5 separate regions of the Homo sapiens genome follow, and regions 1, 2, 3 and 5 are each linked to region 4. The links are contacts of gene promoters, found by promoter capture Hi-C in blood cells and fetal thymus (Javierre and others, 2016). All regions are on one chromosome and are shown on one strand. The core of a region is centred on a gene start or on the middle of the fragment in contact, and the rest is flanking DNA. Distances in the headings are between cores, read along the strand shown.

Region 1 (2,711 bases), core at 98-2,597, 610 kb before region 4:
AGCTCCATTTCAGTGATGAGGAATCTGAGACAGAATTTTAAGTGACATGTCTCGTTCAAACATTATGAGTGGAAGAGTCAACACTTAAGCCTGAGTTTTCTGATTCTAAGCCTAGTGCTCTTTTCAACACAGCACTGGAAACCAAAGATTGTGGTACACAACAGGGCAACAGCCAGTCTTCTGCTCGAGGTCCAACTAAACTGGACCCATACCGAGCAGTGTCCAGCCAAATGTCCAAATTAATTTTATCCTGCAAATATTTGTTCTTCAGTGTAATACACACAGCACAACTACCATTTCCTTCGTCTTAGTGCCTTTATCTCCTACATTCCAGAAATGGGGATGTCAAATATTTTTTTAAATCTGGCCTAGATGGAATCATATAAATCTCAAATCATAATATAAATCTTAAAGGTCTGGTTTCCACCAATCCTTCCACATTTTGTTTTCCCCCAGCACTAGAGAGCCTAACCTACCCTCACCCCTTTCGAGCATTCTTGCTCCAAACGACCACCTATTTTAAGATGTCAATGACCCTTTCCCAAATTCTACAAATTCACCCCAGTTTTGCCACCCGACCCCAGCGCCTGCCCGGACACGTTCCCCTCCCTCCCAATAGATTTGATACCGAGTTCAGGTTCTGCAGATCCCGTTGCGATGCTGTCACACAGCACTGACAGATAAGATTTGACCTTTCGACTCCGTCCTTGGGGACTTCCCGCTGGCCAAGAAGGGTAGTTCCAATCCCAGGAAACGGGCTTCCTGCTCAGGAACGCAGCCTCTAGCAGCGCACAGTCTGAGGCAATGTCTCCGGCAATTAGAACGATGCTGGGCGCCCGGGTGTGCATCACTCTGCCTCATACTCCTACCAACTGCAGGGCACTCGGTCCGGCAGCCAGTCCATCCCACCCACAGCCAAGTCCCAGCCAGCCGGACCTTACGCAGGACCCCGATGATAGGTCGTTGACGGCTGCAGCAAAAGCCAAGGCCACCTGCCGCTGCTGCCCATCCCCGCCAATCTGAGACCCCCTAGACTGGACCGCAGAAAAGCGTTTCTATGGGAACCCCCCCACCGAGAATCACGTGACGCAATCGGACGACCAATCGCTTCTTACCTCTGCCCGCGGTCCAGCTTTTGGCCCTCCCTCTCGCCCCCGCCTCCTTCGCCCAGCCCCGCCCCTTGCCTGCGGAGAGCCCGCGCCTGCGCGCTGTGTCCTGCGCGCTCCTTCCCTCGCGCGCGCTCTCCGTGGAAGAGCAGGGGCAGCGTGGGAGGCGCCAAGGGAGCGCGAACCTGAGGAGGAAGAAACGGGGCTAGCGCGCAGGCCCAGAACGGTCCGAGCCGCGGCAGTCGGCGACGCCTCAGAGCGGAAGAGGGAAGTGAATCAGGCGCCGGGTAGTGGGTTGCTGGGCTGGGCTTGCTGAGGTAGAGGCAGCGCCAAGAAGAGGCCTTTGCCGCTGGTCGGGATTGGGATGTCGAAGAACACAGTGTCGTCGGCCCGCTTCCGGAAGGTGGACGTGGATGAATATGACGAGAACAAGTTCGTGGACGAAGAAGATGGGGGCGACGGCCAGGCCGGGCCCGACGAGGGCGAGGTGGACTCCTGCCTGCGGCAATATCCTTGCATTCACCGCCCTCCCCACCCCAGCCCAGCCCAGCCCGCCCTTCTCCTGGGACCCGGGAGCCTGCAGGATCCGCGGGGCACCGGCGCGGAGCTGCCCTCTCAACCTGCGGCTTAACCTGTCTCTTTGGGATCGCCCGCTCTGAGAGGGCAAGGGGGAAGCCCCCGTTTCCTACCCAGTCGGCAGGAGACGCGAGGGTCCCACTCTTGGAAGCCTGCCCTCCCCCGCGCGCCTTCCACGCCCCCAGATTCCTCAGGTTGCACCCGAGTGCCTGCCTGCCTCGGGAACTGGTCCCGCCGGCCGCGCCCTCGCGGCGCTGGGGAAGGCGGCCCCGGCTGGTGGGGAAGGCTGGTGCCGAGCGCCTTAGTTTTTCTTCCTAGAACTCTGATTTCCTGGGGTCACATTAGCTCCAGAAATTTCTGATTGTGGGGAACCTGCATCTTTCCTTAGTGGTTTTGTTTTTTGTTGTGTTTTTGTTATTGGTAGCGTTAAGGTAGTTTATTCCTTACCGGGGGGCGGGGGGAGATGGGACTGTTCGAAAATTGAGGGTCCCTGTGCTTTCAGCCCATTGGCCTTTTTAAAAAAAAAAAAAAAAGAAGAAGAAGAAGGGGATTTGGCAAAATATACATTGTACAGAATTTGTTAACTGGGGGAGGGGAATGAATACAAAAAATACAAAACTCCTAGAAGGAAGCTTGGAGCCTTTTACCTGCTAAGAAAAGGACAATAGAAAAAACAACGGGGAATGCGTGTGGAGAATCCTTGGAAATATTTAAAATAAACCCCAATGAATAAGATAGAAGATGAGTCATTCGTATAAAGCAGAATCATTTTTGTAATCCTAAAATTGTTTCCATTTTAGTTAAAATATGGCAGTCAGTTCCCGGTTTCTGTTTTTGCATATTTGAATATTCATAACTTTGGCTTCGCATTTGCATTACATCTTTTTTAGAAAAATGTAAATGTTGCAAAAAAACCGAAGCTGTAGTTTTAGAAAATCTCAGACACTGAATTTGTATGCATTTCTAATTCTTGGGTGTATTCATAAGGAAGACTCTCAACAATGTCCTGTTATAGTGGGGAAATATGAG
Region 2 (2,895 bases), core at 228-2,727, 530 kb before region 4:
ATTCTACTAACAATAACCACAGGGCTTTGAAGGAAAGGGAAACTAAAGGCTCCAAAGAGATCTGCTAGATGCACTAATTTGCCCTGCCACACATATCTAAGGCATATTCTTCGCCTTAAAAAAGCAAAATAAAATAGTAGGCAATTTTTGTCAACTGAATGAATGCCCTATTCTCACACGGCTATTTCAGATACATGTTTATTGGTCTTATGTATCAGAAAGAATTTGCTAACCTTAAGAATTACTATTAAGTCAGACTCTAAGTTAAAAATCTCAATTTTAAAAAGTGCAGAGCTGGGCACAGTGGTGTGCACCTGTAGTCCCAGCTACTTGGGAGGCTGAGATGGAAGGACTGCTTGAGCCCAGGAGTTTGAGTCTAGAGTGGGCAACACCACAAGACACTGTCTCAAAAAAAAAAGTGCAATTTTTCTGCAAAGAATGAACACCTACAAATAAAACTAAAAAGCAGCTGAGAACCATAAGATAGAACCTCTATTTTCTCCCTTACATCTCTGCTGGCTACTGAGGATGTAAAAAGTTTTGTCAGTAGCATTTATTACATAAACCGGCTTCTTCTTTTTTTTTTTCTATTTCCTTTCAGAAGTTACAAAAACAAACAAACAAAAAATAAAAATAACCCAACAAATGATATATTTGTAATTACAGAATCTCACTATCCCTTAATCAATCTGAGTGTACAGGAAATGTAAGGTCTATAATTTAAAGAGTAGTTAATACCTGAACTGGCAGGAAGTGATGGAGACCACGGAGTCCCTTCAAAAAGGGAATACAGAGATGTTTCCTGGGGGGCCATTGAGGGACTGAGTTCTGCTTTGGAGCTGGATGTCAGGTTTTTCCCATATACCTCATTGAACATACTATTATTTGGGTATCTTTCCTGAAAGACATGACAGTGAAGTTATAAACTCACCCCAAGGAAAGAGATTTGAGAAAATCCAATGTCTTGTTCATGGATGCTTGGTACACCTTAAGCTTTTCTTAGGAAGAGAAATTTTGAAGGCTTTTATTTCTTTTTGTTTCAATTTTCCAGTCAAATTAATTTTCCTCTTTGCTTTCTCTCACCCTTAAATTTGCTCTGTGTAAACTATCCAGGTTGAAAATGTGAATAATTTATTTGGCTCAAAAAGAGAGCCCTAAGGGTTTCAATATTAATGAGAAGTTAAAGGGTTTTAATTCATGATGTACAAGTCACTAGTATGCCCCAATCAGAGACAAGGGGGATAAAATCAAATATCTGGAATACACTAATACATGGAAAATAAAGAAAAAACAGACATACTGAAACAGTATGAGAAAGACAATGATCAGTCTACACTAAAAGCACACAGCAGGATTCTTCATTGTTCACCTACCTGATTGAGAGAGAATCCGGTGAGGGACAGGAAAGAGGATGAATGTGACATGAGCTCTGAGGGCTTCTCCAATAAGGATTTCTTCACAGTCCCAGAAAAAAAGGTAATTAAGTTATACCTTCTATTTTCTTAATATTAATCTTACCATACTATGGAACCAAAGCAAAAGCATGCCTGTATTCGCCCACTGAGTACAATTTGAGGCTCAGAAGATGTGAATTCAAATCTGTTAACACCAAGACACCGCCTAAGTGCCAGTTGCCACAGGTGCATAGAATCCTCCTTTTAGATCAAACCTAGTCAGAGATTATATTCTGGCAGGGACCAGAGACCCTGGTAAACAGCACTCTGAGTGTTTATGAGGCATGGACCTCAGGAATCCCCTTGTCAATAGTTGCACTTAATCTCAAAACAAAATGCTGAACTGTTCCAACACTGTTTCTCTCCACCCCACAATTTTTAAAACATTAACATTGGTGACTTTTAAAAAGCCTTTCAAATCCATTTGACAAATGGCTTTGTTAATATGCTTTTTAAGCAGCTCTATTTGCAGTATATAGTAAAACAGTTGCTAAAAGTCAAGCTTACATTTATTGGCCCTAGCAAAGTTATTAGGAGAAACAAAGCTGAATCTCTAATGCTGTCACTGAATAGCTGGCTAATAAAACATTACTAAATACCTACGACAAGAGAAGCACTTTGACATACGTTGTATCATTAATGTTAAATATTGGAAGGGTTATAGTCGAAGTTTTTTTTATTCATTGTTGTCTTTTAAACATGAAAAAAAAACCCTGAAAATACTCCCACTTGTTCTACCATCAGCTCCATTTCCAATGAAAGGGACACTAAGGGAACAGGAACAGGAACTAAGGGATTAGGAAACAAGTGGACAGAGAAGCACTACCCTCAGTCCTTAAAGCCACTCTAGCATAAAAGCCACAAGAAAGGCAAACATAGAGAGGCAACAGTATAGCAGCTGAGCTTCCACAATCCCTGTGCGCTCAGCCATGGCACTGCTACCATTTAAGTCTCCAGGGGGATCTTTTATTGCTATTATTTAATAACTTGGTATGGGGCCCCTACTGCTACTACCCAGGCAAATTCTTAAGGGAACTTCAAGTGCCAGGGATGGCAGCAATGTCATGAAAGCTGTTAAGGTTTTATTTCTCTTGACACTAAAATTAATGTACTTTAATTTTACGAATGTGTTCTTGCCCTGTGTTTATGAGAAAGAAACAGCAAGAAAGTAAAATTTACTATCTTTTTATGTTTTATTAAGGTGTAATAAAGAGAGGGGAAAAAGCCTCATAGCATACATCTTTCTTTCCATCTTTTATACTCCCCACCCACAGTAAAATATAATATGAACACTGACAAGCATATAGAATGATGTTCTTTGAAATGCAGGCTGAGTTCTCAGATTTTATTTTATGTGATTCTAGTTATTTTCATATTTACTCATTTATGACACTCTGACAATGTTTATAAATAGAATCCTCTTCATTTTTACTCATTCTGT
Region 3 (2,720 bases), core at 180-2,679, 890 kb before region 4:
GAGTCCCCATCAGTGGTAGATGCCTATCGGTGACTCAGTGTGACCTAATCACTCTATAAGCACGTGAGGCAAAGCAGTTCTATTTCCCTAGGTTTTAGCTGTTCTTATAGAAGTTAACCAGCAGGTGGCAGCAGACACCAGAAACTGGAGGCAATATGGGTTCCCAAAGAAGTCAGAAGCTTACGGGGCTGGAGGAAAGCCTTGCCAACGCAGTTGATTCAGTCCTACTGCAGTCAGATTTCGTAGTGAGAGAGAAAGTTCTGTATTTTTAGAAGTTTCTAAGAGAAGTACCCCAGATTATACGGCTCTGCATTGAATATTAGTGCTAGAAAGGCCTTGGACATCAACTAGTCCCATACCTGTTCTGCTGAGGAACCTGAGACCCAGGGAGAAAACTGGGGCTCCAGGTCCACACAGCTAGTTGACAGCACCCCTAGAACAGGAACCCAAGCTCCCTGATTCCCACTGTCGAGTTCCCAGAGCAAGCACATGGCCAAGGCTCAGCCTGTGGCTGATGACAATAAGATGAATCAACATAGTATGCTGCTACCTCGGTATGTTTAGTACTGTGAGGCTTATCATGAACTTTCATATTATCTTATCCCATTTTAATTCCACAACTGTCTTGTGAACAAAATGCAGAGCATTATAAAGACGAGGAGAATAAGATTCAGAATATAAAAGTGACTTGCTCAAGGGAAATACAGCCTTTAAGCAGCTTCACCACTTTCCACATTTGCTAGTAGAGCCAACTGTATACATTTTCATGATGTGTATCAAGGACAATTAAGAAATGGAGTACTACAGTTAATATGCTTTTCTGATTAACTACACATTTCTCATCCATGCAATACCAATAACCAAAGAAAGAAGTTATTGGAAGAGGTACTTTTAAAAATCATTAAATTGAACCATTTAAAATACCCATTATTATTGTAGAAAATTATAAAGAATTTCCCGGAATGACTTAAGCTAAATTATACCATGTTAATCCTATAAAATATTCTGGAAGTCATTTATAAAATAAATAACATTTCTTTCATATTTATCTGCCTTTCCATGGAAACAGTATAGAAGTTGAGCTTTCTGGTTATCAGGCTTCTGATTAAAATGGAGTCTATTATCTTATTTCCTGTAGATTTCCTCCTGTGGCATAATTATACATTCAGTTCTATTGCACAGTTAGTTTACAGCCAGCCAGCTGATGTGACAATTCTCATGGGTAGGGGTCTGATTGTGGCTCTATCATAATATGGTTTAGTTTTTGTTTTGGTTTTTGGGTTTTTTTCTTCCTTATGTTCCCAAATGAATCAACTTAGTGGCTCAATTTGAGGACTAACTGATGATAGATAAGTTAATAGCATAAGTTTCTTTGCAGATATATTAGTTAAGGGGGTGCATTTTCCAATTATTCATTCAATTTTTTCGCCTTCATGTTCCTCTATCCAAACTCTATTTCCTTTGTTAGATTTTTCTATGATTCTAGTGACATTTATAGTTAAGATAAAGCCTAGAATATGCCTGGGTTATAGCAGCTCTAAACAGACTGCCTGATGAGCCCCCAAATTCCTATTGAGAATTTAAGAAGTGAGGAGCAAGTGCAAAAATCAATATTTAGAAATCATGATCGGGGAATGAAGAAAGGAATGCAAATAAATTACACTTCACCCTTAAGAGCAACCTCACAGTGCAGCCTGTGGAAAAGGAAGAATGACAGTCTGGAGGACTTTTGGAGAAGGCGGCTGTCACAGGCTCTCAGGTCAGGAAGGAAGTGTGGAGGTCAGCTCAGTCCAGCTATGTGCCAAGCAGGAGAATCACGAGCCTTTCTAGCTAATATGCAGGGATTGTGCAGTCCAGGAGCTACTTGCATCCAAGTGAATCACTGATGTTTAAGAAATGTATGACTCTGAGAAAGGTTCATCCAAAGAATAAAGAGCCATGACTTCTGCAAGAATTTAAAAAGCCAGTCTGATGAGGGATGAGACAAAAAAGATGAAGCAAGGGATGTGCAGGAGAAAGCACACTGGGCTTCTGCATAGTTTTAAAAGGTACCATTTGGACCAATGTACATTTCCACTATGCCACAAGGTGTGACTGTGATTCCATCTCCTTCCTGGAGAGACAGGGAGAAATCCCACAATAATGTGGGCAATACCTCAGTTATTACTTTCCTACAATGTCTACCATCAGAAATGGAGCCTATAAAACCTCAGAGGCTGTGAAAAAGTGAATGATGAGACTGCATTCCAGATTTTGACAAAGCTAATTTGTATGTCAAGTCACGAAGAATGACTACATCCCGGGTTGAGGAAAAATGCCTTTTGAGAGCATGGCCAGTCCGTAGGTGTCCACGAAGGCTTTCTTTCAATATTTAGAGCATGAATGATTGTATCCCCTGGATTTCAAAGCAGAAAGCTAAGAAATCCAACTAGAGCAGCAAATTAGTCATCTCAGTTTGATGAATCCTGAATATGATGCTTTTCCTGGATTGGCTACATTATGACAAAGTCACTTGAGGGTTCCAGGATTACCACTGTTGTTTTAACACCATGTGAAGCAACACACATGTCCCCTTGAAGAGCAGCAGATATAAACCAAGGGATGAAACCATTGCCAACATTCTACCTTACTGACCTAACCATAAGCTAAGGAGCCAGAAGTCACTATTGAGTAAGCTTGGTTAGCCAGAAACCTTCCCCAAATGGTGCAAATTCTAGTTA
Region 4 (2,700 bases), core at 112-2,611:
CAGTGAGTGCACTTCCTTTTGTTCATTCTGCACCAGGATTAGCAGTCAAATCGCTTTGTGGTTCTTAATTAAGGCTGAGCAGCTATAAAGAACAATAACTTCAAAAGTGAATTTATGTTTTAATTACACATAGGCAATATAGGCAGCGAAGGCATTTGCTCCCCTCAAATTCCCCCTTAACTCAACAGAGCAATCACCCTCAGCCCTGGAAGGACATCTAAACATTTTAAAGGCGAAAGTGTTTAAGGCGGACCTTCTTGTTTCCGATCCAAGAATGCGCTGTGATGACCTTGCTAGCAAAGAGAAAAGTGGGGATGGGAGTTTCTGATTAACGCTTCAGAAAAAAAAGGGGGAAATCACAATCCTAACAGCCGAAATGCAGAATAATCAGAGAGCCAGAATCCCGTTAAGTCAGAAAGAACAGGAAAGCAGAGAGACTCGTGCGGAACATCCTGGCCCTCACGGGATGTTAAAAGCAGTATCTATTTAAGAAGTTGGAGAAAGGAGTTTCTGTGTGGCCCATGCCGGGGAACAGAGAGCAAACACGCGGCCGTCTGCGCCCGTGAGGCCGGCCACTGGGACGGAGCCGGTCCGGGAGCTGGGCTGCTGGCGAGCAGTAGCAGGGGACGGGGCTGTCACCGCTTACCCAGGTGCAGCGTGAGGTTGATGGAGCTGGGGTACTGCACCCCGGCCAGCATGGTCTGGCTTTGCCACCAGGTGGTGTCGGCCTGGTTGTTGTAGTCGGTCAGGAAGGCTGCCCCGTGCTGCAGGTGGGGCTGCCCGGCGTCGCACAGGTGACAGGACTTGGTGACCCCGGTCACCCCGGTCTGCACACAGTATTCCTCGGGCGGAGTCCCACACGTGTTGGTGGCCACCACAGTCACGTTGAAGGCGGCGTTGACGAACTCGGGCATGCAGCGCTGCGGCCGCCCGCCCTCGTCCGTGCACTCGTCCATGGCTGCCTGGGCACAGCCCGCCGCGGCGGCCGCCGCCAGCACGGCCAGCACGGGCCAGAGCCGCCCCCGGGGCCGCAGGGCCGGCGCGGCCCGATGGCTCCCTCTCATCCCGCCGCCCGCACGCTGGGTCACGGCGAAGGCAAGGGCACCGGCGCGTTCCTCTCGCCTAGCGGCGTCCCCCGGAGGCCGCTTCGCTGCTTGAGCCTGGGGGCCCAGGGGCCTGACTCCGGCGCGGGCGGTGGCGGCGGCTCGCGCCGGAGAGACTGACGGGTGGGCGCCCCTAGCGAGGACCGCGCTGCTCGCCGACCACTGCCCCCGCGCGCCGCCTCCGCGCTTCCCTCACCTACCCCGGGAGCAGCCTGCACTCCGCGCCGACCCCCGACTTCCGAGCGCGTGCCCGAGTGCGCGCCCCCGGGGAGGAAGGAGCAGGGGGTGGGGTCGGCAGGGTGGGGTGGGGTCTGGGCGAGGAGAAAGCCCAACCCTGTCTCCTCTCAGCAACTCCCGCGGCCCCTGGGGCAACTCCCCGGCCCACCGCGCCCCATGGACTGCGCGTCCGCCCCGGCGACTCCAGGAGGCGGCGGGGGCGGGAGCAGCGGCGTCTCGCGCTCGGGCCCGCGGCGCGCGACCCGGGGGGAGGGGCGCGCGAGGTGGGCGGGGAGCCGGGGGAGGGGGTTGGGGGAGGGGAGGGGAGAGGAGGGGAGAGGAGGGGAGGGGAGAGGAGAGGAGGGGAGGGGAGGGCGGCTGGGTGGTGCATGCCGGGAGGGAAGGGCGGCCTCGCAGACCCGCTCCCCGCGCGGGAGTCGCTGGGGTCCTTGGGCTCCGCGGCCTGGGAGACTCCGGATTGCGGGAGGAGTCGGGGGAGGGCGCCTTAGAGGGGCGATGCCGGGTCAGGAGGTCGCTCGGGGTCGTCCCTGGGGCCTCGCGCCAATTTGGGCTGCGGCAAGAGGGTCCCCGCCCGGCCAGGTGTGGGTCCGAACCGGGAGCGCCCGCTGCTGCCCGGGGCCCCGCTCCAGCCCCTCCCGAACAGAGGTCCCGGGGCGTTCATGGGGCCGACACGGTCCCTGGAGAATCAGAAGGGCCTGGTCGCAGCAGCCAGATGAGTTTCGTGAAGCGATTTCCTGCCGCTGATTTAAAGTGTAACCAGTCGTTTTACCGGGGCAAGGAAGGAAGTGAAAAGGCTGGGAATGGAATGAATTTTTCCCTTGGGTACGCACGACCCACTGCGAAATTCTTCCACTGTGTTGTTTGTGTTCCTCGGCTTGCCTTTAAAAGACTCGAAATTATGTGGATTCTGACATCCTCCTTTTCGGGCCTGCTGAGTCACGGAATATTCTCAGTGCCAGAATGACTCAGTTCACAGAACCTGAGCCAGAAGATCATGAGTTTTAGTCCCGGAGCAGAACCTGGGCGCTTACCCAGTGCTGGATACGGCAAGCAGAGACCAGGGCAGGGAGGCAGCAGCTTGAAACCCTTGGCGTCCCCAAGCAGAGAGGATGCACATAGTGAATGACACGGATTTGTTTTGTTCTAGCTTTTCAGGAATTTAATGATAAAGTGCGGATAATAAGTACACCGCAAAAACAAAACAAAAAAACACATGCATAATTTCGGACCCAGTTGTCCCATTAAGATAGGCGTAATGGGAATCTGAAACAAGGAAATAAGTATATGTTAGGTGACTCTGGATAGTTAGGGTTAGTTAGACGCAGACTGCTGATTAGGAAAACCTTAAGGATAATGTTCT
Region 5 (2,826 bases), core at 150-2,649, 570 kb before region 4:
CCTGGGGCTTACATCTATTTTTCACTTTGTATTAGTCAAGTCTATTTTTTGGCATACAACAAAACTAATTACAGCAAACTTAAGCAAACACTGAAATTTATTGCAAGGGTCTAAGCTTGGGGCAGGAATTTGGATGGGGCTCAGGAAAGGCTGGAACCGGAGACTGAAAAGTTTCTGTGTCTCTTGTCTCTGCTCCTCGCTGGGCATCTGTTCCATTCTCTCTGAGTAGTCTGGCTTCCTCTGCTTTCCGGGGCCTCAGGGCACAGCATGATAGAACTGCAGCTCCTAGGTTTATACACCTCTCAGTCCTAAATCCTGAATCACAGGAGACATAACCTAATGAGGCCAGCTTGTCAGATGCCCACCAGGGTCCAACCAGCCAGGACTCAGGCAGTACAAATGTGGCCACAGGGCCTACCATCCTTCTATGGATTACACAGGCAGGTCCCAGAGAAGAGACAGGCATATACCCTAACAGATGTCCACTCTTCACTTGTTCATTCATTCAGTGATTCAGCAAATAGTTATTGTATGTCCAGACACGGTCGTTAGGGACACTACAGGGAAAGCAAAAGGGAATCTTTAAAAATTTTGTTTTGCAGAAAATCTAATCTTGCATGTTCTCACTTATAAGTGGTAGCTAAACATTGAGTATACATGAACACAAAGATGGGAACAATAGACACTGGGGACTCCAAAAGTGGGAAAGGAGACGGGTGGGCAAGAGTTGAAAAACCACCTATCGGGTACTATGTTCACTATTTGGGTGACAGGATCAATAGAAGTCCAGACCTCAGCATCCTGCAATATACCACGTGACAAACCTACACATGTACCTCCTGAATCTAAATTTTTTTAAAAAATTCTGTTCTGCTAAATAGGGGGTAGATTTCTAACTCTTCTGTGCCCCCTCCGCTTTTTTGTACAATGACGTGATCAGTTTCTACTCCTTCAACATCAGTAACTGTCTTGTTAGAGCATCATTTCCCCTTAGATACTCACTGGCTTGGGAAACACACACAAAAACTATCCTGAGACAGGAATCTTCCTAAAGAAAAAGACCCACGGAGTTTTGAACACATGTAAAAGAGATCCCTGGCTCTATGACTAGATTGCATTTAGTGAATGGGTACTCTAGACGAAAAATGCAGGACTGAAAAGGCCAACTGCATCCAAAAAGGGAAAGTTCCTAAGATATGCAGGACTAGAATCATGCCACATCAACCATATTTCTTTTTTACTTTTCAGATCAGCACATATTTATTAAGACTTTGATATAAGATGTTAGGTGCCAGTTCTGTGGAAAATGTAAAGAAATAGAAAGCCTGTTCCCTGCCCTCAAAGAACCTATTTATAGCTAGCTGGATAGATAAGGTAGAAAACAGATAATGTGATAGAGTGCTTGTGTTTTGGGGTTTGATCATAAAATGCTATAGGAATTCAGAGAAAAAAATTACTGAGACTAACTTACATCAGGGAAGACTTTACGTAGGATGTGAGTCTAAGCTGAGCTTTTACAGATGGACAGATGGACAGGATTTGGATCTGCAGAGAAATGTCAAAGGGCAATTTTTTTTTTTTTTTAAGATGGAGTCTCGCTCTGTAGCCCAGGCTGGAGTGCAGTGATGCAATGTCGGCTCACTGCAACTTCTGCCTGCCAGGTCCAAGAGAGTCTCCTACCTCAGCCTCCTGAGTACTATTTTTAGTACTATTTTTAGTAGAGACAGGGTTTCACCATGTTGGTCAGGCTGGTCTCCAACTCCTCACCTCGTGATCCGCCCACCTTGGCCTCTCAAAGTGCTGGGATTATAGGTGTGAGCCACTGTGCCTGGCCCAAAGGACAATTTATAGTGAGGATCCAGTGTATTTACTTGCTTCATTCAGGATTCAGATCTTTAATCTCTATGCATTCATTCATTTATTCATCAAACTTTTACTGAGTGACCACCTATGCAGGTACTAGACATTGTGTGTGTAAAGGGTACAAATATGAAAAAGAGTGCTTAATATGAGGTGTCTTTAAATGAATAGGCATTATACATTCCCTCATTTTCATCTAGGATGCTAGGACACATATATTTAGCCAAGCAAATTAAGTAATCACACTGACTTTAAAAGCACCTTCCATGGCATCGCTATTTAACAGATATGTTAAAAATCCACCATATCATGGGCACAAAAGATACAGTGGAAAAATCAGACACAGATCTTGTATTTTCGGGGCTTACAGTCTAGTTGAGAGACAGTCGTTTAAACAAGTAATTACAATCACATGTGCTTGAACACACATTAGGAGAGGTAGAGAGAAACCTCCTTGAGTGCACATGGCAGGAATAATTAATCTCACTGGTAAGTCAGGGAAGAAGACTGGAGCTGCTGAGGTGTGGCAGGTGGAATTCTAAGATGATCCCTGATGATCCTTGCCTTTGTGTAATCCCCTCCCCTTGAGTGGGAGAGACCTGTAACTTGCTTTTAATCAATAGAACATGGCAAAGGTGAAGGGATTTTTGCAGAGATGATTAACATCCCTAAGCAGTTGGCTTTAAATTAATCAAAAGGGAGAATATTCTGGGTGGGCCTGGCCTAATCAGGTGACTCCTTTAAGAGAAGGTCTAGAGGTAAGAGACTTAATGAAGCAGAGATTCTCTCTGCCTCCATTGCTGGCCTTGAAGAAGGAAGCTTTCATGAATTCTATAGCTACAGATGAATTCCACCAACAAACCAAGGGAGCTTGGCAGCAGATGCCGTCAAGTCTCCAGATGAGAAAGCAGCCTAGATAACACCTCGATCTCAGCCTTGTGAGACCCTGAGCACAGGGCCCAACTA

Evidence for each region. Contacts are between HindIII fragments. The CHiCAGO score rates a contact against its expected background, and 5 or more counts as called.
Region 1: the fragment with the promoter of ARPC5 here is called in contact with the fragment with the promoter of LAMC1 in region 4 in 5 of 17 cell types (total B cells, naive B cells, fetal thymus and 2 more); the score reaches 12.3 in total B cells.
Region 2: a contact is called between a fragment that was not itself captured here and the fragment with the promoter of LAMC1 in region 4, in 2 of 17 cell types (endothelial precursors and total B cells). The highest score is 7.1, in endothelial precursors.
Region 3: a fragment that was not itself captured here is called in contact with the fragment with the promoter of LAMC1 in region 4 in 1 of 17 cell types (total B cells); the score reaches 5.3 in total B cells.
Region 5: a contact is called between a fragment that was not itself captured here and the fragment with the promoter of LAMC1 in region 4, in 1 of 17 cell types (naive B cells). The highest score is 5.9, in naive B cells.

What each region holds. Positions count from the first base shown.
Region 1 is chr1:183,634,419-183,637,129 of GRCh38, reverse strand. It overlaps ARPC5 (actin related protein 2/3 complex subunit 5), which reads left to right and starts at 1,347. Exons shown (of 4, transcript NM_005717.4): 1 at 1,347-1,613. The coding sequence starts at 1,471. It also overlaps a transcript of RGL1 not described here. RefSeq lists silencers at 1,064-1,223, 1,704-1,753, 1,834-1,893, 1,845-2,063 and enhancers at 1,374-1,653, 1,651-2,151. The HindIII fragment of the contact is 3,712 bases long and covers 1-2,316 here.
Region 2 is chr1:183,547,767-183,550,661 of GRCh38, reverse strand. SMG7 (SMG7 nonsense mediated mRNA decay factor) reads right to left here. Exons shown (of 23, transcript NM_001375584.1): 19 at 1,374-1,454; 20 at 739-898. Among named protein-coding and RNA genes, the nearest start is that of NCF2, 41 kb to the left of the region's middle. The HindIII fragment of the contact is 963 bases long and covers 996-1,958 here.
Region 3 is chr1:183,913,566-183,916,285 of GRCh38, reverse strand. All of the region lies in intron 15 of RGL1 (ral guanine nucleotide dissociation stimulator like 1), which reads right to left. Among named protein-coding and RNA genes, the nearest start is that of RGL1, 110 kb to the right of the region's middle. RefSeq lists an enhancer at 52-241. The HindIII fragment of the contact is 2,496 bases long and covers 182-2,677 here.
Region 4 is chr1:183,022,081-183,024,780 of GRCh38, reverse strand. LAMC1 (laminin subunit gamma 1) reads right to left here and starts at 1,361. Exons shown (of 28, transcript NM_002293.4): 1 at 647-1,361. The coding sequence starts at 1,064. RefSeq lists enhancers at 445-998, 1,554-2,108, 2,109-2,664 and silencers at 953-1,092, 1,113-1,182, 1,233-1,622, 1,653-2,042. The HindIII fragment of the contact is 7,676 bases long and covers 1-2,700 here.
Region 5 is chr1:183,595,500-183,598,325 of GRCh38, reverse strand. It overlaps a transcript of NCF2 not described here. Among named protein-coding and RNA genes, the nearest start is that of NCF2, 6.5 kb to the right of the region's middle. The HindIII fragment of the contact is 2,564 bases long and covers 118-2,681 here.